Regions from separate parts of the Homo sapiens genome. Here regions 2, 3 and 4 are each linked to region 1. The links are contacts of gene promoters, found by promoter capture Hi-C in blood cells and fetal thymus (Javierre and others, 2016). All regions are on one chromosome and are shown on one strand. The core of a region is centred on a gene start or on the middle of the fragment in contact, and the rest is flanking DNA. Distances in the headings are between cores, read along the strand shown.

Region 1 (5,630 bases), core at 901-3,400:
GGCTGGCATATTAGCAAAGTTTTGAAAACAGTAAAGCCTGGAGCATAGAAAGTGATTGGCACTTGAGATTGATGAAGAGAATTAGAGATAAGACTAGAAAAGAAAGTTGGCACTGAAATCATACTAAATAGATCATTGGCTAAATATTTTTATTGAAGTACTTTCAGAAGTATGAAACTATGTAGAAAGTGTTAAAACTTTTTTTATCATGTCATGTATAGTTTTAAAAAATTGCTCTCAGTTAAGATTCTCCTTATTCCTCAAAAGCTTTTGCTTTCCATGACTTTGTTGCAAATATAATCAATTTACTTATTTTTAAAACTTAATTTTTATAAGAAAGGTTATCAGATGATTGTTTAAATGTTTTTTATTAGTAAATTTTCATTATATTGTCTCCCAAAGAACCACTGTATTTTTTTAATGTCTCAGAACATTATATTTTTATATGAATCATTTATGTACCTCTCTGTAACAAGTGGGAATTGCTTCATGGCATTTGGGGAGTACGTAATATTATATTTATAGTTGACTGACTCAAATCCAGCCTGAGCCCTCTGGCCTGGTGAGAATTCCAAAACTCCATTTGTTGATGTGCGCTCCATCTTCCTTACATGGACCCTAAAGCACTTACCTCTCCAGGAGCCCATTCCTTCTAGAGCATAAGAGTAGTGCCTTGGAGGCAAACAGACTCCTAGCAAAGGTCTTCCTTCCCAGGTTTACCATTTGTCCCAACTCCCATTATCTTTAGGGATCTACCTGCTTTTCCTGTGAGTACAAAACATTTCCTTTTCATGAGTACAAAACATTTCCTTAACCCTATAATCATGAAACCCTGTCTACTCTCCTGAAACGAGGAAGAAAAATAAATCCTTGCTGAGATGTCTATAACACGTTGAAGGAGGGAAGGTGTTAAAAACAATAAAAAGGGCAGGGCTGTGGTGGCTCACGCTTGTAATCCCAGTACTGTGGGAAGCCAAGACGGGCAGATCACTTAAGTCCAGGAGTTCAAGTCCTCCTGGGCAATATGTGAAACTCCTCTCTACTAAAAATACAAAAATTAGCCGGGGGTAGTGGTGCCCACCTGTAGTCCCAGCTACTCAGGAGGCAGGAGGATCGCTTGAACCAAGGAGGAGGAGGCTGCAGGGAGCCTAGATCGCACTGCACTCCAGCCGGGGTAATAGAGTGAGACCCTGTCTCAACAACGTCAACAAAACCAATAAAAAGATAATTTCGTATTTAAGTTACCCAAGAAGGAACGGTAATTTGGATCAGATCTTAGATGATGACTAAGAAAAAGAACACTCCGGTAGAGGAATTAACTTTACAGAACGCACTGAGGCAAAAAGGAATACAGTGTTCAAGAGTAAACATTGAGTGTCAGGAGAAACATTAGATAGGAAAGGGCAGTTTGTCTTTCTAAGAAGTTTACACTTTCTCCAATAACAGTTGTTTTTGTCTTTTATAGGAAGCGCGGATTCTATTACTGGAAACTTTGGGACTGAAAGGCCAAAGCTTCTGGGCCCACCATCAACGCAGCTCCGCTTTCATTTCTTTCACATACAACTTTCCACATAAGATTTCATGCGGAAAAAAAAAAAAAACTCACAAAGGTTTTATACTGATAACAGTATATTAAGTGTTTACTTTGTACACAGCGTCTTTGTTCCAGACACTTGCCATGTCTCATTTATTCTCACACCACCACCACAGCGTCCTTTACAGATGAGAAGACAACCTCAGGGAGACGATGTATTTGCCTAGGTCCCATAGCTAGCAAGTGACAGCGCTGCAGTTTAAGCTCAGGCCGTCTTGGGGAGAGACCGTGCTCTTCTACCATTGCACTTTAAGCTGACTTTAGGGGAAACACAATCTGAGTTTTGACAAGTTTACTTCTGGCACATGCAGTCCCGAGCACTGCTTTTTGGCTAAAATGCCCAGTGATGTCAACTCTGTCCCTGGATTTCTACAACCCGATGAGTCAATATTCAGAAGAGACGTCGAAAGGAAAGGGTTCAATAGACAGAAAACACACCAGACAGTCCCAGAAACCCCAGAACCCTCGCCTCTGCCGGCGCGGACAGCCAAGACGTCACTTAAACGCGCTGCCGCCTCCTCGCCCCGCCCCGCCCCTGCGCGGAAGTCTATCCGGGCTTTCGCGTCACCACCCTGCCCACCTGGGTGGCGCGTGGCTTACGCAACGGTCACTGGGCTCCTGGGCCGCTCCCGGGCCAGCGAGGGCTGCGAAAGAAGTTGTAGGTACGGCCCATTTTTCTTAACGCCGCCCTTCCAAGCCCTTTGGCGCTAGTCCCGGGTCTGCCGCGATCGTTTCCTTGCGGTAGGCCGCAGGAGGGCCTTTCCTCCCCCTCAGTTCAATGGGATTCTTGGGCTCTTCTCCCAGACGCTGAGGGAACAGCCACAGACATTGTCTCTCCTCTCCGTGACTCCTTTCCTTACTCCGTCATCCCACATCTCTCTTGTTTGTTCTCTTTTCCTCCTGTTTTTCTTATTTTACAAATACTCGCCAGTAAGAAAGAAGAGATCTGTCAGTTAAGATTGACCTCAAAATTAATTTTATTAAGCGTGTACTATTTTACAAACGGTGGATCCCTGCAAATAAACCTTCACATACATGCTCCTGCGACTGGAGATTCTGGGATTGGTTGCCGATCCTGAGAAAGCTCTCTTCCCCCACCCACCCACATCCACGCCCCTTAATCCTGTTTACTCCTCTTGGCTTTAACCCAGGGGACAAGCACTTCCAGCAGTCCCCAACCTTTTTGGCACCAGGGATCAGTTTCATGGAAGACAGTTTGGGGTGGGGGGCAAGATGGGATGACACTCTTCTATCTCAGATCATCAGGCATTAGATTCTCTTGAGAAGGCGCAATTTAGATCCCTCACATGCGCAGTTCATAATCAGGTCTGTGCTCCTATGAGAATCTAATGCCTTTGCTCATCTGACAGGAGCTGGAGCTCAGGCATAATCCTCTAGCCCTGCTCACCTGCTGTGTGGCCTGTTCCTAATAGGCCACAAACCTGTACCTGTCTGCTGCCCAGGGGTTGGGGATCCCTGCTTTAGACCAGTGCTTTTGAAGGAAAAAGGAAAGTTGCACACATACTGTGTCTGTCACATCAATCAGTAGTGTTACAAGAGCTCTTCACGGGACCATACCAGGTCCCTCACTCCCCCTCTATGGGTGTCCTAGAGCCTGTGAAATAACAGATTTGGTGATGTGGGGAGACAACTGGCCCAGGTGGCACTGAGGGAGGCCACACCCCACTCTCTGATTTTCCTTAGAGATAAATATAATTATGTGTGCAACAGAAGCATGAAAAATGACACTTATTATTGTCACCCCTAGAGAATTCATGCCCCAAATATTTTAGTCACTGTGTGCCTATGAAAAGGGCATTCATAGGTATTGTCCCCTGTGAGTACCAGAATTTTTTTTAACTTACTTTTTAAAATTCTATACAGATTTAGTTAGTACAAGTTCAGTTTTGTTGTGTGGATATATTGCACAGTGGTGAAGTCTGGGCTTTTAGAGTACCAGAATTTATACTGCTGTTTTTCAGTTGGCTCTTGTCATAAGGTCCTGCCAATTACTAGACACAAGGAAATAGGTGGGTGCTATAGTTGTAACATATAAAGTATCGTTTTTATAGTACTTCTCATTTTGTACTTATTTTTGTACTCATCCTGTTTAAACACTTCTGTTGGTTAACCAAATCCCATGTTACTGTGGTGTTTACTAAACACTGAGATTGAATAGTACCTGGAACATAGTGTAATATATGTTCAATAAATATTTTTTGAGGGAATGAATGGATGAGCTTCTGAAGAAGCCATACCTTAGCCACTTTTGTTTTTCCTGGATCCAGAGCTTAGTCTAGCAGTAGTAAACTCACCAGTGTGAGTTAAGTAGAGAAGTCAAGTGACTTGCTTAGGGAAAGGCATTCATTAAGTATTTTTTAAAGAATATCCTACTTTGTCAGGCGTTGTTTTAGGCATTGTGAATACAATGGTAAGAAAGACTAGCAAGATCGCTGTTCTTATGAAGTTTAAATTCTAGTGAGTGTAAGATAGAAAATAGGTAAACTATATGAGCAAGGAATTTTGGATAATAGTAAGCACAGTGAAGAAGTAAAACTGTAAAGGTCTTCCTTAAGACTGGGGGAGGGGTTAGTTTAGATTGATTGCTTAGTGATATTTTTAAAAACCAACCATGGAAATATTTGGGATCAGCGCACTACAGGTAAAGGCAACTCCAATTGCAAGAGCCCTAAGGAAGGAAAGAACTTGGCTCCTTCCAGGAACATCATCAAGACCACTGAAGCTAAAATGTAGAGAAAGTGGTACAGGATGAGCTTGGAGGGATAGGTAGGGGCCAAATCATGTAAGGCTTTGAATAGGCCATGGAAATCTACCCATGGAATAAGTTTGGAATTTATTTAAAGTGTAAAGAGAAACCAGTAGTGAGTTGGAGGGAGTGATAGGATCTGATTTACATTGTAAAAAGGTTTGTTCTGCCTATTATGTGATGACTGAATCATACTGGGTGGGGAGCAAGATCTATAGCAGAAGATAATTGCAGAAATCCAAAGAGGAATGACAAGTTTGGGATAAAATAGCAGAGAAGTAGATGTATGTGAGCTCTATTTTGGGGGCAGAGCCTACAGATTTTGTGATGTTTTGAATATAGAGGTGATGAAAAAGGAGTCACCTCTAGCCCCTAAATTTTTGTCTTGAGCTTGTGTGGATGATTGTGCCATTTACCAAATGGAAAAGACTAAGGAAGAAAAAGGAGCAGCCAGGGCGGTGGGAGGGGGGAGTTTTATTTTGCTTACCTTAATTTTTACATTCTTATTAGAAATCAAAGGTAATTTGAGGCTTCAGCTCTGTGCAGAGTGCAAGGAACCAAAGATGCAAAGTTGGGAGTCACCAGCATATGGAAAACTACCTAGGGCAAGTGTGCTCACCGATAACATTGCAGTGACTAGTGTAAAGCAGAGGAAAAGAAGCCAACAAAAGAGATGGAAGAATAGCCAATGAAGTAGGAAGAAAATCTGAAGAGTGCAGTGACATAAAAGCCGAGACTGGCCGGGCATGGTGGCTCATGCCTGTAATCCCAGTACTTTGGGAGGCTAAGGTGGGTGGATCACCTGAGGACGGGAGTTCCAGACCAGCCTGACCAACATGGAGAAACCCCATCTCAATTAAAAAAAAAAAAAAAAAAAGCCAAGACTACAAAACATGGCCAACAGTACTGAATCATGCTTAGAAGTCAAATAAAATAAAGAGATCTGTGCATTGGGTTTTGGAAACATTAAGTAGTTATATGCCTTGACTAGTACAATAAAGAGAAAATGTGGTGTCAAGAAATTGACATAGTACTGCTGGCTGGGCAGAAATTGACGTAGTACTATAGACATCTCAAGATGTTTTACTATGAAAGAGAGCCAAGAAATGGAGGTAATAGAGAAATATGTATGGTCAAAGAAGGGTTCTTAAAGATAAGGACACTTAAGCATATTTAGACTGAGAATAATCCAATAGAGGGGGGTGGAAATGATGGTATAAGAGAGAGTGTGTATATTTTAGGAGTGAAGTCTTTGAGAAAATGAGAGGG
Region 2 (5,630 bases), core at 903-3,402, 220 kb after region 1:
AGAGAACATGTTCTATAGAAGAGACAGAAGATGAAACTAGATGGGCACCCAGATCATAAAGCACCGTATGTACTTAGGAGTTGGAATTATCTTAAAAACTATCATAGATTTCAAGCAGGGGAGTAACATTTTTAAAAGACCACTTTATCATTAGGATGGAGGGATAATCATTAGTAAGCTATTGCCATAATCTAGGCTGAAGATAACATCATGAACTAAGATGGTAGTGACAGTGGGCATAAAGGAGAAGCTAATTCAAGAAATTTTAAAGATCTTACTTGATAACTATCTTGATTCTGAGATAAGAGAGGAAGAAGTTGATGATGAGATCCTGGTTTATGGCTTTCAGTTATGGCTTGCTATTAATAAACAGGAAAAAAGGGATTGAGACAAGTTTCAGTTTTGGACGCATGACATGAGATATCCAAGTAGAGATATCCAAGTAGAAATATCAGTAGGCATTTGAATATATGCCCTGGAATGAATAACTGACCAGAGATATATTTTGCAACTCAAATTTTTATGGGTCAGCAGTTAAGAGTAGAAAATCAACCTATAAGAATACCAGCATTTTTAGCTGGGTGTAGTGGCACATGCCTGTAATTCCAGCTTCTTTGGAGGCTGAGGCCCGAGAATTTACTTGAACCTGGGAGGTGGAGGTTGCAGTGAGCCGAGATCACACCACTGCACTCCAGCCTGGGCGACAGCACCACTTTAAAAAAAAAAAAAAAAGAATACCAACGTTTTATTGCCACAGAAGAGCTGAGGCACTGTGAGGGAGCAACTTTGCACTGATGAGAGCAAAAGAAGTAGAAGGTTTCTGAAAAAATCTAACATAAATTCTGGACTTGTACGATTTGAGTCGATTTGCTGATCACAGTGTTCCTTATTCTTTGGGGATTTTGTTTCTTTTTGGTGTAGTTTGCTGCTGATTCATAATAGAATTTAAATATCATAGGGTCTCAATTTTTTATATTGCCTAGTTTCATTATCTCTGAACCTCGTAGTTCTTCCTCTTTTGGCATGGCAGAACTTTAGTGTTAAATTGTAACATTGAAATATTTTGCCTTCTTTATAAAGTTCTTTTTTCGAACAAACGAAACGAAATTTGGCTTTGCCTAAATCCCATCAGCAGATTGCCTTTATTCAGAAGCAGTCATAGACAGCATTTGATTTTATGAAAATTGAAATGAAAGCTTACAAAGAACTTCTGGAATTAGGTTATTAAAACTTCAATGTTTGGGGCCGGGCATGGTGGCTCACGACTGTAATCCCAACACTTTGGGAGGCCAAGGTGGGTGGATCACTGGAACTCAGCAGTTTGAGACCAGCCTCTCAACTAAAAAGACAACAAAAACTCCGTCTCTACTAAAAAGACAAAAAAAATTAGCCAACTGTGGTGGTTCACTCCTGTAGTTCCAGCTACTCGGGAGGGTGAGGTGGGAGAATCACTTGATCCCAGGAGGCAGAGGGTTGCAGTGAGCCAAGATCGTGCCACTGCACTCCAGTCTGGGCGACAGAGCAAGACCCTGTCTCAAAAAAAACAAAAACAACTTTAGTGTTTGGGATTACCTTTAAATTGTTAATTTTACACAGAAAAAACATATCTTGTATAGTATTGGATCAGGTGAAAGTATATGCTATTTGAAGCATCTATTCAAAATTAATATAACTATTTAATAAAGACATGTTAATCTAATAAACTCAGGTCACATTCTAAGTGACCTGAGTGTTTTTCTAGTTCCATATTTTGTAGAAAATATGAAAAAGGACTGGGCACGGTGGCTGATACCTGTAATCCCAGCACTTTGGGAGGCTGAGGCAGGCGGATCACCTGGGGTCAGGAGTTAAGAGTTCAGCCAACATGGTGAAGCCCCATCTCTACTAAAAATAAAAAATTAGCTGGGCACGTTGGTGCACACCTGTAATCCAAGCTACTGAGGCAGCTGAAGCAGGAGAATCTCTTGAACCTGGGGAGGCGGCGCTTGCAGTGAGCTGAGGTTGCACCATTTTACTCGAGCTTGGGCAACAAACAGCAAGATGATATTCTGCGTCTTGTTTGTCCCCCTTCCCGTTCCCATTCCCCCCGCCCTCCACCCCTACAAAAAAAAAGGGGGAAGACTTGGGAGATGGAGAAGGACTCACTTTAAATAAGCTCTGGCTGGGTACAGTAGCTCACACCTATAATCAGCACATTTTGGGAGGCCGAGATGGGTGGATCACAAGGTCAGGAGGCCGCAAGACTAGCCTGGCCAACATGGTGAAACTCAGTCTCTACTAAAAATACAAAAATTAGCTGGGTGTGGTGGTGCATATGTGTAATCCCAGCTACTTGGGAGGCTGAGGCAGGAGAGTTGCTTGAACCCAGGAGGCAGAGGTCGCAGTGAGCTGAGATCGTGCCACTGCGCTTAAGCCTGAGCGACAGAGTGAGACTCCGTCTCAAATAAATAAAAGCTCTTCCATTTACTAGTTGTATATTTCTTTGAACCTGATTCTTCATTAATAAATTGACCTTTCTTCTTTGAACTCGTGTCCCTTGTTCATATTTCATGATACCTATAACATTTCATTGCAGTTACTTTACATGTCTATCAGTGTAAGCTCATCAAGATAAAAAAAATTGTTCTTTGGATCCCTTAACACACATACAGTATATAGCAAGGGGTTAGATTAATTGAATTAATGTTTATTTATTTTACAGAAGGGTAGGAATTAGATGAGCTGTGTTAGTGTCAGGCCTGTTTTTTATGTGCCTGACATCCAGAATGGGCATAGTGAAAGGCTCATATATAGCTGTATATACAAAGCCTTTCTAATAGAGGGGAGTCAGTGTTGGTAAAAACCCAGTTCATGTAAGTTGTAAAACATGTCTTCGGATTGGTTCTTTGCATACCCAGAAGCAGTTAGGCATTCCACATTTTAACTTTAAATTCCTGAGTAGGTCAGTATCTTTGATCATTAAGTGGTCTTCAAAAGACTTGTGTTTGAATCTTGGTTCTATCATTTACCATTTGTACACTAGACTAAGTTCTTTAAGCCTCATTTTTCTCATGCATAAAATAGGGGCAATGCATGTATTTTCTGGTATTGATTAAAATGAGAAGCTTAGGCTTTTCTCTGTTCTCCTCTTGAAGGTGGTGTGTGTGTGTTACCTGGAATAGCTAACATTTGGTTTGCCAGTGGGCAGAATGGACTGTTGTGAAGCCATTTGTACACATCTGGCTATTGGAAGAAATAATCTACATGTGTAAAATTTTGTTTACAGATTATTCTGAAACATGATTATGTAGGCTTTATTGCTGTGTTGTACTTTTGAGAATTGAGATCTAGAATACTTGCGTTTCTGGATAACTTTTTAAAAAAACATTTTGGTGACGTGTAAAATGACTAGATAAATTAGGGTTTATTACTGTATAAGTTTTAAGTTTTTTTCTATTACTATAGACTGAATTTTCATGGAATAGATTATTTATTGCAGTGTAAATAGGTGATTTGGGTTCATTATTAGAGAAATGCTTGGAAACAAATGTTACGGAATATTTAGCAATAATATTTTAAATTTGAGTTAAGCATACTTTTCTTTTTACAGAATGACAGCCCATATCAAGGCGGTGTATTCTTTTTGACAATTCATTTTCCTACAGACTACCCCTTCAAACCACCTAAGGCAAGTATTTTCCCTCAAAATCTGTTAGTATAGATTTATGCTTTATTTCAAAGGAATAGAGCATTCTTGGAAGATAGGGTTCTGTGTAGGCTGTATATATATGTTGAATTGCACTCATGTATAGATGCTGACTCTTAACCTTTGGTTTAAAGAGCTAGACCTCAGTTTGAGCTTTGTAAATAGGAATAAGGTTTGCCTTTTCTTTAATGTTGCAAGATTCAGACCATGTGGAAGCTTCCGCCCTCATCTGTATTATTGTTACACAGATTCTGATTTTTGGGCTTTTGTTGTCTTGTAAGCATCAAATGTCCAACTTCAATTTATATTTGCACGTATTGTTACAGCATATGCTTATTATGCTTATAGTTTTGTATACGTAAGTGTAAATTTGTGAAAACTTAGAGTTGCTTAGTGCACTGGTTTATAGGTATTAAAAGCATATTATCCTTCACTTTTCAGTCATTAACATAAATTCAACCTGTATGAATAACTAGAAAAGGTAATATACAAAGGTCATAAACATGTCACTATAACAATCTCTAGTAATGTTATAGGTGCAATGTGATGGTTTCCATTTTTGTGATTCAAGTTTATGTTTTATGTACGGTGGAAATGCAGACTCAGGTGTACCTGTGTAACTTAATGAAACTTTAAATGAGATGGTCTACAAATTTTGGTTACATCCAAAAGTTAGGGCTTTTATAAATGAATGTGTTAAATACCTTTAAATTGCCCTTTGATTCATGATATGGTAGGGCCACAGTAACCTTTAGAACTTTACATCATATGAGTAATGAAATTTTTATCCAAAAGTTTAGGTTTCTGTTGTAAAAAGAGGAGGCAGGGGGTTGTGGTCAGATTGTAAAAATCAGTTTCTATAATATTTAGAACTTCTATGCTAATAGATGACATTTTTAACATTGTGGCTTGATTATTTTAAGTTTTGCTTTAAAAGATGTTTGTTTTTATTTGAATAAAATACTTAAAAGTTTTTGTTTTAGGTTGCATTTACAACAAGAATTTATCATCCAAATATTAACAGTAATGGCAGCATTTGTCTCGATATTCTAAGATCACAGTGGTCGCCTGCTTTAACAATTTCTAAAGGTAAATATTTCTAGTGAAATAAGCTGTTCTCATTGTCTAATAAAGCTTCATTCTTAGATCTACTTATCTGAGTATTTTTATTATGGCAGCTTTTTGGTAAGAGATGGGGAAGCAATAAAGTTACTTTTATAATTTTTGTTCTTTTAGTGGTGTTGATTAAAGATACTTTGTGAGAAGTTGTTAAAATTCAAATTGTGGTGAGTAGGCATTATTTGCCTAATGAGTTACCTTCATCTCATCTTATAATAGCAAAATTTATTTTAATAGACTTCTGTATTTTTCAATCCCAAACCACTTGGACATCTCACACTAACTTGCGGCCTTTTTACCAAGAATGGTATGATATACCTAAACTTAATAGAGCTTTTGAATCCTGAGGTTTCCACTCTAGGAAAATTCTGATTTTGCTTTCCTGGGTTAATTTTTAGACAAATCTTCAGTCATGTTTTATGTAACCATGATAGGTTGTTTCTACCTAATGACAGTCTAAAATTATATAATCTTCGAAAGATCTGTAGATCAATTCTGGTCTCTTAATAGGTATCTGTTACGTTATATGTAACAAGTTTTCCGGTCTCCGCATGAATATCCCAGGTGAAGTTGTAATAATTAACACTATTTCACCATTAATTGTTTTTTGATTTTATGAGTTCAGTAAGTACAAAAAAGCTTTTTCAAAAGGCAAGGCATTGTATAAAAGTTTCATATGTGTATATACTGCACTTGAATCTCATGGAGAGAGACTGTAGCAGTAGCATTTCCCAAACTTTATTGAGTAGAATCACTTAAGGGAGAAAAAGAAACAACTTAGGCAGATGCTGCCATAATTCGAGTGTTTTTAAAATTTTACACCTGT
Region 3 (5,630 bases), core at 1,626-4,125, 200 kb after region 1:
AGATATACTTCTTGAAGAAATGAAGTTTAAAGCTAGGAAACGGAGAACACTTGTGGCAAGTGAGGTGTTATCCTGAGTGCTTCAGTGGAATCGGTGCAAATTAGGGGTGGAGGAGAGTGACTTAAGGCGCCTTTATTATTTTATTTTTTTGCTGCTTAAGAAGGAGTTTTTTTGGGGGTCCGAATTGCGGAGAGACGCTCCAGCAGATGTCATGGCGCTTCCTATTCTTGGTGCTTGAAAACTTAGTTTAGTTGTGAGATCAAGGTTATCTAGGCCTTCTAGGGGTAAGAAAGAAAACTCGGAGGAGAGAAAAAAAATCTGGCGAGTCCCGAACTTGACTGAGGGTCGGGTAGAAGAAGTCTTGCGTATTGAAGGTCAGTCAGTGAGTCTAGTAGAAACTCTTAGTCGACTCTGGGCAGGTTACACCGAATAAGTGGGTTTGGGAGGAGATGGAATGACACAGTGTTGCCACTTCCTGTATTTTGTAGTTGCAGCTTTTCACCCGAAGCTATTTATCCGAGGGACACCGGGAACTGATGTAAAAGGCATTCTGGAAGCTCCCTTTTCCTTTTGGCTGGAGAGTGGGGGTGGATAAGGGGTGCGATGGCAGTAAGGGAAAGCTAATGTACCTATTTTTGCCTCATTCTATTTAATAACACCCTTGTTTCGTTACTTGAAATGTGGTTTGATAGTATATTATCGATTTAAGTTGAAAAAAAACTAGGATTTTTCGGAGCTCTGGGAGTGAGCGGAACCTCCACCTCCGGTGGTTTAGTCTCATTTTCTTGCTCTAACTTCTATCCCGCATTTTAAGATGGCGGCTGCTTTAACTGGTTCAGGCTCTTTCCGGCATCTCCTTTCGTAATAATGTGAATTAATATGATTTGTTAAATGTTAACTTTTATATCGCGTTGTGCACTGCTCTAAGATCCTCTGCTCAAAACTTACCTAAATTCAAACTCTTAAACTGTATTTCCCTTTTTTGTGACTTGTATTTGTGTGATGTGTTTGGTTGTTGCACAATCGAAGAGGGTGGAGTGTTTACAGCTAACTTGAAAAAAATGTCATGGAATAAATTCAGCCTTACTAGAAAAATTGTGGAGTGTCGGTGAGTGTTAGAAACTTTGGTTTTAATAGATTACTTTTTTAAAAAGAGTTCTGAGAGGAATGGCAAGAATTTGCCTTTACTAAAATAGACCTGATACTACATTTGCCTGTATTTAATTATGACTGGAGTTTATTTGGCAAGATTGGTGTTTCATGAAAGAGGAAGGTTTAAATCTTCACTCTTAGTATGTATTGATATGAAATCGTGAATTTTGTTTTGGGCCTTCATAACATCGTCATTTTGGGTTATGCGAAATACAAATTTAAATCTTTGTGAAATGAAAGAAAAGAGGAAGAAACGCTTTTTAGGAGTTAAGGATTAAAGTAAAAATTATTTTGAAATAATTACCTCTTTTTGTGACCACTTTAAAGGCCAGGAACATATTGGAGAAGCCTAGTTGTATGTTACAGTGTGGTTTACACAAAGAGCATAACATTCAGTACAAATAAAAATCTTTTCTGTTGGAATTAGTTCAGGCCACTAAAATGTGGAATAGTACCAGATCCATAGCTTTTTGTGCATGTGGAACAGAACACGTTAAAGGAAGGCCTCTGATTTTTTTTCTCTTACAGGTCATACCCAGCTGCTGTGACACCACTTAAATGATTTAAAAGCTTTAGAGAGACAATATAACAGTGGTTAAGAGTGTAAACATTGGAGCAGAAATGCTCCAGTTAGAATTCTAGCTCTGGGCAAGTTTATGTGCCTCTATAAGAAGGGTATCTGTTGTAATATGAACAATAAATGACTGTGTGCCTAATATGTACCAGGCACTGTTTTAGACATTGGGGTGGCAGCAGTGAACAAAACAAATTTTAAGTTCCTAGATTTGTTTTGACGATTAAATGGATTAATGTGCAAATTTGAACAGGCTCTTGGCACATGACACTCCTAGTTATTACTGCTATTTTAATATCACAATTTATAATTTTTAAAAATCGTTTTTGTTTAAGAACTTTGATTTCTAGTTTAGTACTCTTAGTTAACCAGGTTGTCTCCTTTTGTAAATATTTTGAAGATTTATGTAATATAGACACAACATAAAAACTTGGCATATTGGAAAAACCAGTGTTTATGTGAACATTATTGATTCAACTTACAGAAACTTTGACGTGTGCATGTGGTTTGGTTTTTCAGCTGTTAATGTTAAAATCACATGAGGCAACTTTCAAACATTCCACATCCAACAATTTTAGTGAGTGGACAGCTCTGAACTGGAATGCTCTTCGGTTTAGGCACCTCTTCTAGAAATATGGGGTCAAGTAGCCATTGATGTCAGTATGGTATGCTTGTGTTACGTACCTATTTCGAATTTATTCTTGTCTGAAGGTCCCACATTTCAAGTATTATGATATATCTGTATTCCTCGTTAATATTTTACTGAAATGATTATTGGAATAGTTTTAACCTTTAGTCCATTTGATCGAGCTTTTGAATTTATACTTTGCTTCAGCTGTGTTCTTGGAGTAAGTTTTTTGACTGTTAGACCAATCAACTTTTTTCCTGTATTCTTTATTTGAACGAGCTGTAATATGGTCTTAAATAGGGCTATTAAACAACAGGAGTTAAAAGTGGCACTCCAAGTTGATTGGTATTGAGAGCTGTAGACAATTTTACCACTCCCATTAAACAGGGACTACAATATATGTGTTTTAGGGACGTTTGAAGATAAATATGTGAACCAAGCCTAAAAGAATAGCTCATGTTTTCATTGTATACACCCTGTTAAGTTTTCGTAAGGGTTTTTATTTCTGGAAGTATGACTTTAGTGTTTATATATGATTATAAGCAAGCGGCTAGCAGGGAAACCATGGGTAAAGGGTTAAAAAACTCTCATTTGATCTTCGTTTCCCTCCTACCACCACTTCCACTGAGATAATTTCAAGATTATCTCCATCTCGAAATTGAAAAACTTAGGCATAGAGGTTAAGAAGATGACCCAGGTTCATGTTGTGACAGTTGGGATTAGAACCTAGGCAGCCTGGTCCAGAGTATGTGCTCTTAACAACTACAGTTTGATATCATCCTTTAGTTTTTTTTTGTCATTCAGAACGGTTTACTTTTGCATATAGTATTATCTATTACAGTAGTTAAGACAATGCAGTCTCATCTAAACCCTAACTCATTTAATCCTCAAGACAACCATGTGGGATAGATGTGAGAATTTTATAGATGAAGTAACAGGCTCAGAGAAATAGTCGTCTAGTCACACAACTAGTAAGTGACTGGGATTCAAATCAGATAGGCACCAAAAGCTCAAGCTCTTTTTTGAACCATTTCAATTCCTTTTTTTGTTGTTGTTGGAGACGGAGTCTCACTGTGTTACCCAGGCTGGAGTGCAGTGGCGCGATCTCAGCTCACTGCAAGCTCTGCCTTCTGGGTTCACGCCATTCTCCTGCCTCAGCCTCCTGAGTAGCTGGGACTACAGGCGCCCACCACCACCCCCGGCTAATTTTTTTGTTTTTTTAGTAGAGGCAGGGTTTCACCGTGTTAACCAGGATGGTCTTGATCTCCTGACCTCGTGATCCACCCGCCTCAGCCTCCCAAAGTGCTGGGATTACAGGCGTGAGCCACCACGTGGCCTGGCCCTTCAATTCCTGTTTTATAATGTATGTGATTTTAGTTTGTTACCTGAAATAAGCTGCTTTGCTCTCCCACTTATACATCTAAGTAATTGGGAGTTAGCTTTACTCTTAGGTTATAGCTAATTTGTGAGTTAAGATTTTGGCTAATAATATTTTGAAAGTAGAAGTGGATTTAATTCTTTTGGGGTAGTCTCTTCAAGCACTGAAAACTAACATGTGCCAGTTAACTGCTTAGGATGTCTTAGAGTGAACAAAATATATTTATTGTCCCCAACTAGTATATAGGCTGGGTAAACTGTCTTGCATGTGTTTCATATATGGTCCTCAAAGCTTGTTGATAGCCAGCTCACTTTCTGTGTAGGATAGTTGTGACTGAAGGATGCTGATAATAATAGGACCTCAGTATTTGTTTAATTTGAAAAAGGATGCATTACTGACACTGCATACTTTTCTTTCATCATGCTCATCTGCAGTGTTGATTCTAGTTTTTGTTATTTATACAAATAAAAAGTTGAATGCTCCATCACTGGGATGAACTACTGTGTCACTAGATTGCTCTGTCAAACTTTGCCCCTGAGTTTAGGTGACCCTTTTTATCCAAGACAGGCAATCTTTGAGGATTCTCCACAGCATGTTGCTATAATCTATCTATTAAAAAAGAAACTAGGTTCGTAACACTGAGATAAAAAAATGTTTCAGATTAAAATCTCAAACCTAGGTTGGTTTTTGCATTCTTTTTTTAAATAGCAGTTTTCTTGTATCTGTTAGCGTATAGAAGAGCTTACTGAATATTATATATTGTTGGGTGTGACATGAATTACATTTATATTCCAGAACATTTGGAGTTTTTAAAAAAATTTTGTGGGTACATAGTTGGTGTATATATTTATGGGTTGCATGAAATATTTTGATACAGGTATGCAATGCATAATCACATCAGGGTAAATGGGGTATATACCTCGAGCATTTATCCTTTGTGTTACAATCCAGTTATACTTGTTTACTTATTTTTAAATGTCAGATTGTTTAGAATTTAAAAAAAAAAATACAGCTGCATGGGGGTCTTAGACTTACTAAATCATTTTCCCTGGAAACACATAATTTTGAAAATTTTCTAGGTGATTCTGAAGCTCCTCTCTGATTAAGAACCACAGATACAAGGGAGTAAAGGTCCTAATCTGCATTAGACGTAGTATTCTAGTCCCAGGGAATAAATGAGGAAGATGGTCCTTATCTATGGTAATCTCTGCGTTCAGTGGTGAAAATAAGCATGTAAACACATGAATAGTTGTTTGTCACTTTGTAATTTACCTTTCAAGAATATTAGATCTAGTAGGGGAGGTATTTAAAATAAATTTTCTATACTGTATTTTTTGTACTAGTATTATTACAATGTGATTTGTCTTTTATTATAATGACTTAATTCCCCTTGCCAAAACCAGTATTTTGAAATTAATGAAATAAAACTCTCCATTCTTGGAAATGTTGTGGTCTTGAGCTTGCTACCATAGCAGTGTTATTTCATAATTAAAAATGAATGCATTCACCAAATATCTTACTGCCCAGTTTCTCTTATTAGATAAGATTTATTCAGAATTGTATCCTCAACCTTGTTATGTAGGGAAGGGAAAAGTTTAGGGAAGTATTTTTATACTTTGTTGAAACATCTGATTTTTATCTCCTAATGATACTTTCAACATAATCTATTGTAAAAGAGACCTTCAACTTTTCATAGCTGAATTTGTCGTATTTAAATGTTTGTCAATTGTGAATCATGATTTCTTGTACCTTTTTCAGTATGAAATACTTACATTAATCCTAACCTTGCTGTAATTTCATGGCTAATGTGTAATTGAATGTTTTCTACTACTGGGCAGCTGTTTGGCTGTTAATCTTTGTTTTTTTTGTTTGTTTGTTTGTTTTGTTTGTTTTAATGT
Region 4 (5,630 bases), core at 1,728-4,227, 160 kb after region 1:
ATAGGCTCACCCATGAGCCCTACAGGACACTTCACCTGCAGAACCCCTCAACTGACAAGCACACCCAGCACTCCATGCACCCACCCACTAGCCAGCAGCCCAACCTCCCCTGCAGATAGTGTATGCAGGCCCCAGCAGATAGCACACAGATATCAGCAACTGGCTCCTGCTGGATTGGAAGAAAGCACACAACCTTGAACACTCTGAGGCACTGCACTAGAGAAAATAAAAGGAGGTTCTCAGCACATAGTCTAGCTTTGTGAGATTGAAAGAAAGCACACAATCCTAAGACTTCCCCTCCCAAGACAGAACAAGAGGAATGGAATGGGCATATCATAGAAAAGGTCTGAGAGACCTTCAGAATCTCTAGTCAGGCTGACTGGTGAACGTCTTTCCCTTCTGAAGCTAGTCAGTAAAGACTGGAGGAAGTGACTCTTTCTTCAGATGCAAAGTTAGAAGACAAGGCTTAAAAGAACACACACACACACACATACACACACACACACACACCAGGAAAACATGACAACCAAAGGAATAAATTAAAGTTCTAGCAGTTGAACACACACACACACACACCAAGAAAACATGACAACCAAAGGAACAAATTAAAGTTCTAGCAGTTGACCCCAAAGAAACAGAGACCTATAAATTACCTGATAAAGAATTCAGAACACTCACCTTGAATCTCAGTGAGCTAAACGAAATCAGGAAAACAATACATGAACAAATGAGAATTTCAACAAAGAAACCACTAAACAATCAAATTCTGGCTGGGCGCGGTGGCTCACGCCTGTAATCCCAGTGCTTTGGGAGGCCGAGGCGTGTGGATCATGAGGTTAGGAGATCGAGACCATCCTGGCTAACATGGTGAAACGCCGTCTCTACTAAAATTACAAAAAAAATTAGCCAGGAGTGGTGGTGGGTGCCTGTAGTCCCAGCTACTCAGGAGGCTGAGGCAGGAGAATGGTGTGAACCCGGGAGGCAGAGCTTGCAGTGAGCTGAGATCACGCCACTGCACTCCAGCCTGGGTGACAGAGCGAGACTCCATATCAAAAAAAAAAAACAAATCAAATTCTGAAACTAAAGAACACAATAACTGAACTGAAAAATTCAAAAGTGAGCTTCAGTGGCAGATTGAATCAAGCAGAAGGAAGAATCAATGAACTTGAAGACAGATCATTTGATATTATCCAGTCAAAGGAACAAAGAGGAAAAATAATAAAGTAAGCCTACAGGACTCTAAACCAATATGCGCATTATAGAAGTGGTAGAGCAAGCAGAGAAAGAGAAAGGAGGCAGATTGCTTATTTAAAGAAATAATAGCAGAAAACTGCCCAAATCTGGGGAGGAAAATGAACATCCAGATCCACAATTCCCAAAGAATTCCATGTAGGTTGAACATAAAGATGTCTTCATTGATCTTTTTGTGGTTCATAAGCATGATGATTGGGTTTTCATACCATTGTGTAAGATGTGCCTTTCTCAGACCTTGCCAAAACACTGGCACATTACCTGTCTGATATGAAAATTTTTTCACTGAGACACATTATGATCAAATTTTCAAAAGTTAATGACAAAGAATTTGAAAGCAGCAGAGGAAAGCAACTTGTCATGTACAAGGGAGCTCCTATAAGACTTTCAGCAGGTTTTTCAGCAAACCTTGCAAGCCAGAAGAGAATGGGATGATATACTCAAAATACTGAAAGAAAAGAAAAGCCTCCCAACTAAGAATAATTTACCCACAAAGCTGTCATTCAGAAAAGGAAAGATGAAGACTTTTCCACAAAAACAAAAGCTGAGGGAGTTCATCACCACTAGACCTGCCTCACAAGAAATGCTAAAACTGAAACTAAAGTTGAAGTACTTCAAGTGGAAACTAAAGGATGCTAATTAGCAACATGAAAACGTGAAAGTATGAAACTCCCTGGTAAAGGGAAGTATAGAGTTACATTCAGAATACTGTAATGTAATGGTGATACATAAAATCATTTTTAACTCTGAGTTAAAAGTATTAAAAATAACTATAGCTACAGTAATTTGTTAATTGATGCACAATATAAAAATGTAAATTTTGACATCGATAACAATGTGGGAGAGGATAGATGAGTTAAAGTGTCGAGTTTTTGTATGAGATCTAAGTTGTTATTATCATAAATGATTAGAATGTATCCCCAAACTAATTGTATTATATACAATATATACAGCTTTACATGTCAATCATACCTAAAGTAGTTATTTTTTTAAATTAACATGCTCTTTCCAGAACCATTACTTTATAGTAACTTGGAAGCTTTTACTACATTATTAATGGATATCAATAGAATATTTTTTAAAGTCGAAAATGACTTTAAACTTTAAACGACACCTTGTGTCGTTTCTGAACATCTTCATTTGATACTCCTAGAGATGCCAAACCTATTTCTTGTGAAAACTGAGCAAGGAAATACCAGGATCCCCAAGTAGTGGAACATGTCCCAAGAGTTCATCACACGTGTCTCTGACAAGAAAAACATCACAAAGAACCGTTATACAAGAAGCCTTAAACTACCACTGGTGGTAGAACAAAACTTAAAATCCCAAATATAACCTTGTTACTATAATAAAAATACTTTTAAGTCTGAATTTCAGATTCATCTTATCAGCATTTTGAGCTGTATGATAACACACTATTTTAATAAAATAGCCACTACTATTTTCAAGTGCTTACTATATGCCAAATCATGGTGTTTTATTTGTACATTATGTGTTTTAATTCTCAAGACAACCTTAAAGAATTAAAGTAACTTATTAGTGCAAGATCCTATAGAGCAGACCACTGCCTGTTTTTATAAATAAATTTTTATTGGAATATGGATACACTAACAAAAGAGATTAAAGGCATCCAATAATAACTTGGTAATGGCTGATCTTTTAAGAAAATACAGGCCGGGCACGGTGGCTCATGCCTGTAACCCCAGCACTTTGGGAGGCCAAGGCAGGTGGATCACGAGGTCAGGAGTTCGAGATCAGCCTGGCCAACATGGTGAAACCCTGTCTCTACTAAATACAAAAAAATTAGCCAGGCATGGTGGTGCATGCCTGTAATCCTAGCTACTCAGGAGGCTGAGGCAGAAGAATTGCTTGAACCCGGGAGGCAGAGGTTGTAATAAGCTGAGATCGCAGCACTGCACTCCAGCCTAGGCGAGGGAGTGATACTCCATCACACACACACACAAAATAAAATTGAATTTAAAAATATATATACATGTTACAGAAATCTGGAAATAAACAATTTAAGAACATAAATAAAACTAAATGCAGTAGACGCATTTCCTGGTTCCTCTGTGTCATGTTAACTTTAAAAAGAAACAACATATTCAACATGTTATGGCTATTAGCATCTTTTCAGCCACATTTCCTTTTGTTCTCATAATTTTTATGCATATTGTTTTTTCCTATTTTTGATTAACACTATGTTTGACACATGATTTCTTTATATTAGAAACTTTAAATTCCACTCAATTTCTAATGTGAAATTTTCTTAGGTATTAGCAAACCTATTCAAAGTAATTTTATTTGCTACCATAGTATAGTCCTTTATTATTTTATGTTTGGGCCATAGCAACAGTCTACCAGATATGTGACCTCTAGCCTCCAATTTTAAAATATTCTATACAAAGCTTTAAGAATAGTTTTTCTAAATGAAGTTTTTTCAAAGACTTTTTAAAGAATAGCTTTAAATTTACAGAAGAACAGGGCAGAAAATACAGATTCCCATATGTCACCCTCTAACCCAACACACACCATTTCTCCTATTAATATCCTGCATTAGTGTGGTACATTTGTCACAACTGATGAACCAGTACTGCTACATTATTAACTAAAATCCATAGTTAACATTAGGGGTCACTCTGTGCTGTATAGTTCTATCAATTTTGACAACTGCATAGTGTCATGTGTCCACCATAATAGTAGCATACATAATCATTTTATTACCCTATAAGTGCCCTATGCTCCACCTATTTACCCCTACCTACCTTATACCCCTGGGTAACCAATTATCTTTTGTCTCTGTAGTTTTGCCTTCTAAATAAAATTCTTCCTGATATTTAAAACCTCAATCTCTGGAGTAGGGCCATATGTGTGAATGAAAAAAGCAAATTGTAGAAAGTATGTATAGTATCCTATTTATAAATTTTAAAAATTACATGTATTTGATTATACATAGAACATTTCTAGAAGGATACCTAGAAAAATGATAACTTCTGAGGAAAGGAGGAGAGACAGTAGATGAGGCCTTTTACTTTCTAGTATCTTATTTTGTTTGAATTTCTTTCCATATACGAATATTATGATTTTAAATATTTTAATTATCAACCTAAAAATATCTCTGGATAAAAAGGTTTTTTCAAAGCATGAAAGCACTAGAAAGCACAAAGGAAAAGTTCTAGAGATTTTAACTGCACAAAAATATTAAAATTCTGTATCTCAAAAGCATCATAAGATCCAATCCACCTGCTATTTATCTATGATGTTCTTTATTTTTTAATTTTTTATTCATTATTATTTTTGAGACCGTCTTGCTCTGTTGCCCAGACGGGAGTGCAGTGGCGCAATCTCAGCTCACTGCAGCCTCTGCCTCCCAGTTGCAAGAAATTTTTGGTGCCTCAGCCTTCCGAGTAGCTGGGATCACAGGCTTGCGCCACCATGCCTGGCTAATTTTTGTATTTTTAGTAGAGACAGAGTTTTGCCATGTTAGCGAGGCTGGTCTTGAACTCCTGGCCTTAAGTGATTTGCCTGCCTAGGCCTTTCACAATGCTGGGAGTACAGGCATGAGCCACCATGCCCAGCTATGATCCTTATTTTAGCTCATATTTTTCCACACCTAATAATCTCATATGGCTTTATGGTTTCTTGTTCACTCTTCACATATTACCAGCCTCACCGCAACCCTGCATCTTTGTGGCTCCTATTTTAGGATGGGTTTCATTTTAAAATGGCAACCCTTTCATCAGTCCCAATCTACCTACTCTGCATTGTTTTGGTAGTAAATATTACCTTCCAAAATTGTTTATTATTTAGTTAATTTGTATCTTTTTGTCTCTGTCCCCCTTGCCATGTCCCACATGAACAAAATTATTTACCTATCTTGTTGACTGATGAATCCTTAGTACCTGACACTTGGTAGGTGTTCAGTAAAAAACTGCTGAATGAACTGGGCACAACGGCTCATGCTTGTAATCACAGCACTTCAGGAGGCCAAGGCAGGATGATTGCTTGAGGCCAGGTGTTTGAAGCAGCCTGGGAAACGTTGCAAGACCTCGTCTCTATAAACAATATTCTAAAAATTAGGTGGGTGTGGTGGCACACACCTGTAATCCCAGCTAGCAAGAAGGCTGAGGCAGGAGGATTGCTTGAGCCCAAGAGTTCAAGGCTGCATGAAGTGAACTATGATTGCTCCAGCTTGGGCAACAGAGTGAGACCCTGTATCTTTACAAATTGTGTTGAATGAATAATTGAGTTATTAAAAGTATTGGTATATCCTATTATTCTACTTCTGTTGGTACATGTTGTAGAATTTGTTGTGTTTGATAGTGATCATACTCCTCAGGTGTCTAGATATTTTGGTTCACAAGCCATGTTCTCCTAGT

The links. Contacts are between HindIII fragments. The CHiCAGO score rates a contact against its expected background, and 5 or more counts as called.
Region 2: a fragment that was not itself captured here is called in contact with the fragment with the promoter of SLC9B1 in region 1 in 16 of 17 cell types (M2 macrophages, megakaryocytes, M1 macrophages and 13 more); the score reaches 14.4 in M2 macrophages.
Region 3: a contact is called between a fragment that was not itself captured here and the fragment with the promoter of SLC9B1 in region 1, in 14 of 17 cell types (total B cells, M2 macrophages, erythroblasts and 11 more). The highest score is 11.6, in total B cells.
Region 4: a fragment that was not itself captured here is called in contact with the fragment with the promoter of SLC9B1 in region 1 in 5 of 17 cell types (M2 macrophages, total CD8 T cells, erythroblasts and 2 more); the score reaches 6.8 in M2 macrophages.

The regions. Positions count from the first base shown.
Region 1 is chr4:103,016,225-103,021,854 of GRCh38, reverse strand. It overlaps SLC9B1 (solute carrier family 9 member B1), which reads left to right and starts at 2,150. Exons shown (of 12, transcript NM_139173.4): 1 at 2,150-2,256. It also overlaps a transcript of SLC9B2 not described here. RefSeq lists an enhancer at 1,809-2,309. The HindIII fragment of the contact is 6,332 bases long and covers 1,515-5,630 here.
Region 2 is chr4:102,800,598-102,806,227 of GRCh38, reverse strand. UBE2D3 (ubiquitin conjugating enzyme E2 D3) reads left to right here. Exons shown (of 8, transcript NM_181891.3): 5 at 3,590-3,667; 6 at 4,669-4,774. Among named protein-coding and RNA genes, the nearest start is that of UBE2D3, 24 kb to the left of the region's middle. The HindIII fragment of the contact is 1,908 bases long and covers 1,199-3,106 here.
Region 3 is chr4:102,820,717-102,826,346 of GRCh38, reverse strand. The region is part of intron 2 of UBE2D3 (ubiquitin conjugating enzyme E2 D3); the gene reads left to right. Among named protein-coding and RNA genes, the nearest start is that of UBE2D3, 4.0 kb to the left of the region's middle. RefSeq lists enhancers at 482-551, 1-1,149. The HindIII fragment of the contact is 2,301 bases long and covers 1,725-4,025 here.
Region 4 is chr4:102,855,285-102,860,914 of GRCh38, reverse strand. LOC124900903 (small nucleolar RNA U13) reads left to right here and starts at 1,419; the gene lies at 1,419-1,522. It also overlaps a transcript of UBE2D3 not described here. The HindIII fragment of the contact is 1,369 bases long and covers 2,293-3,661 here.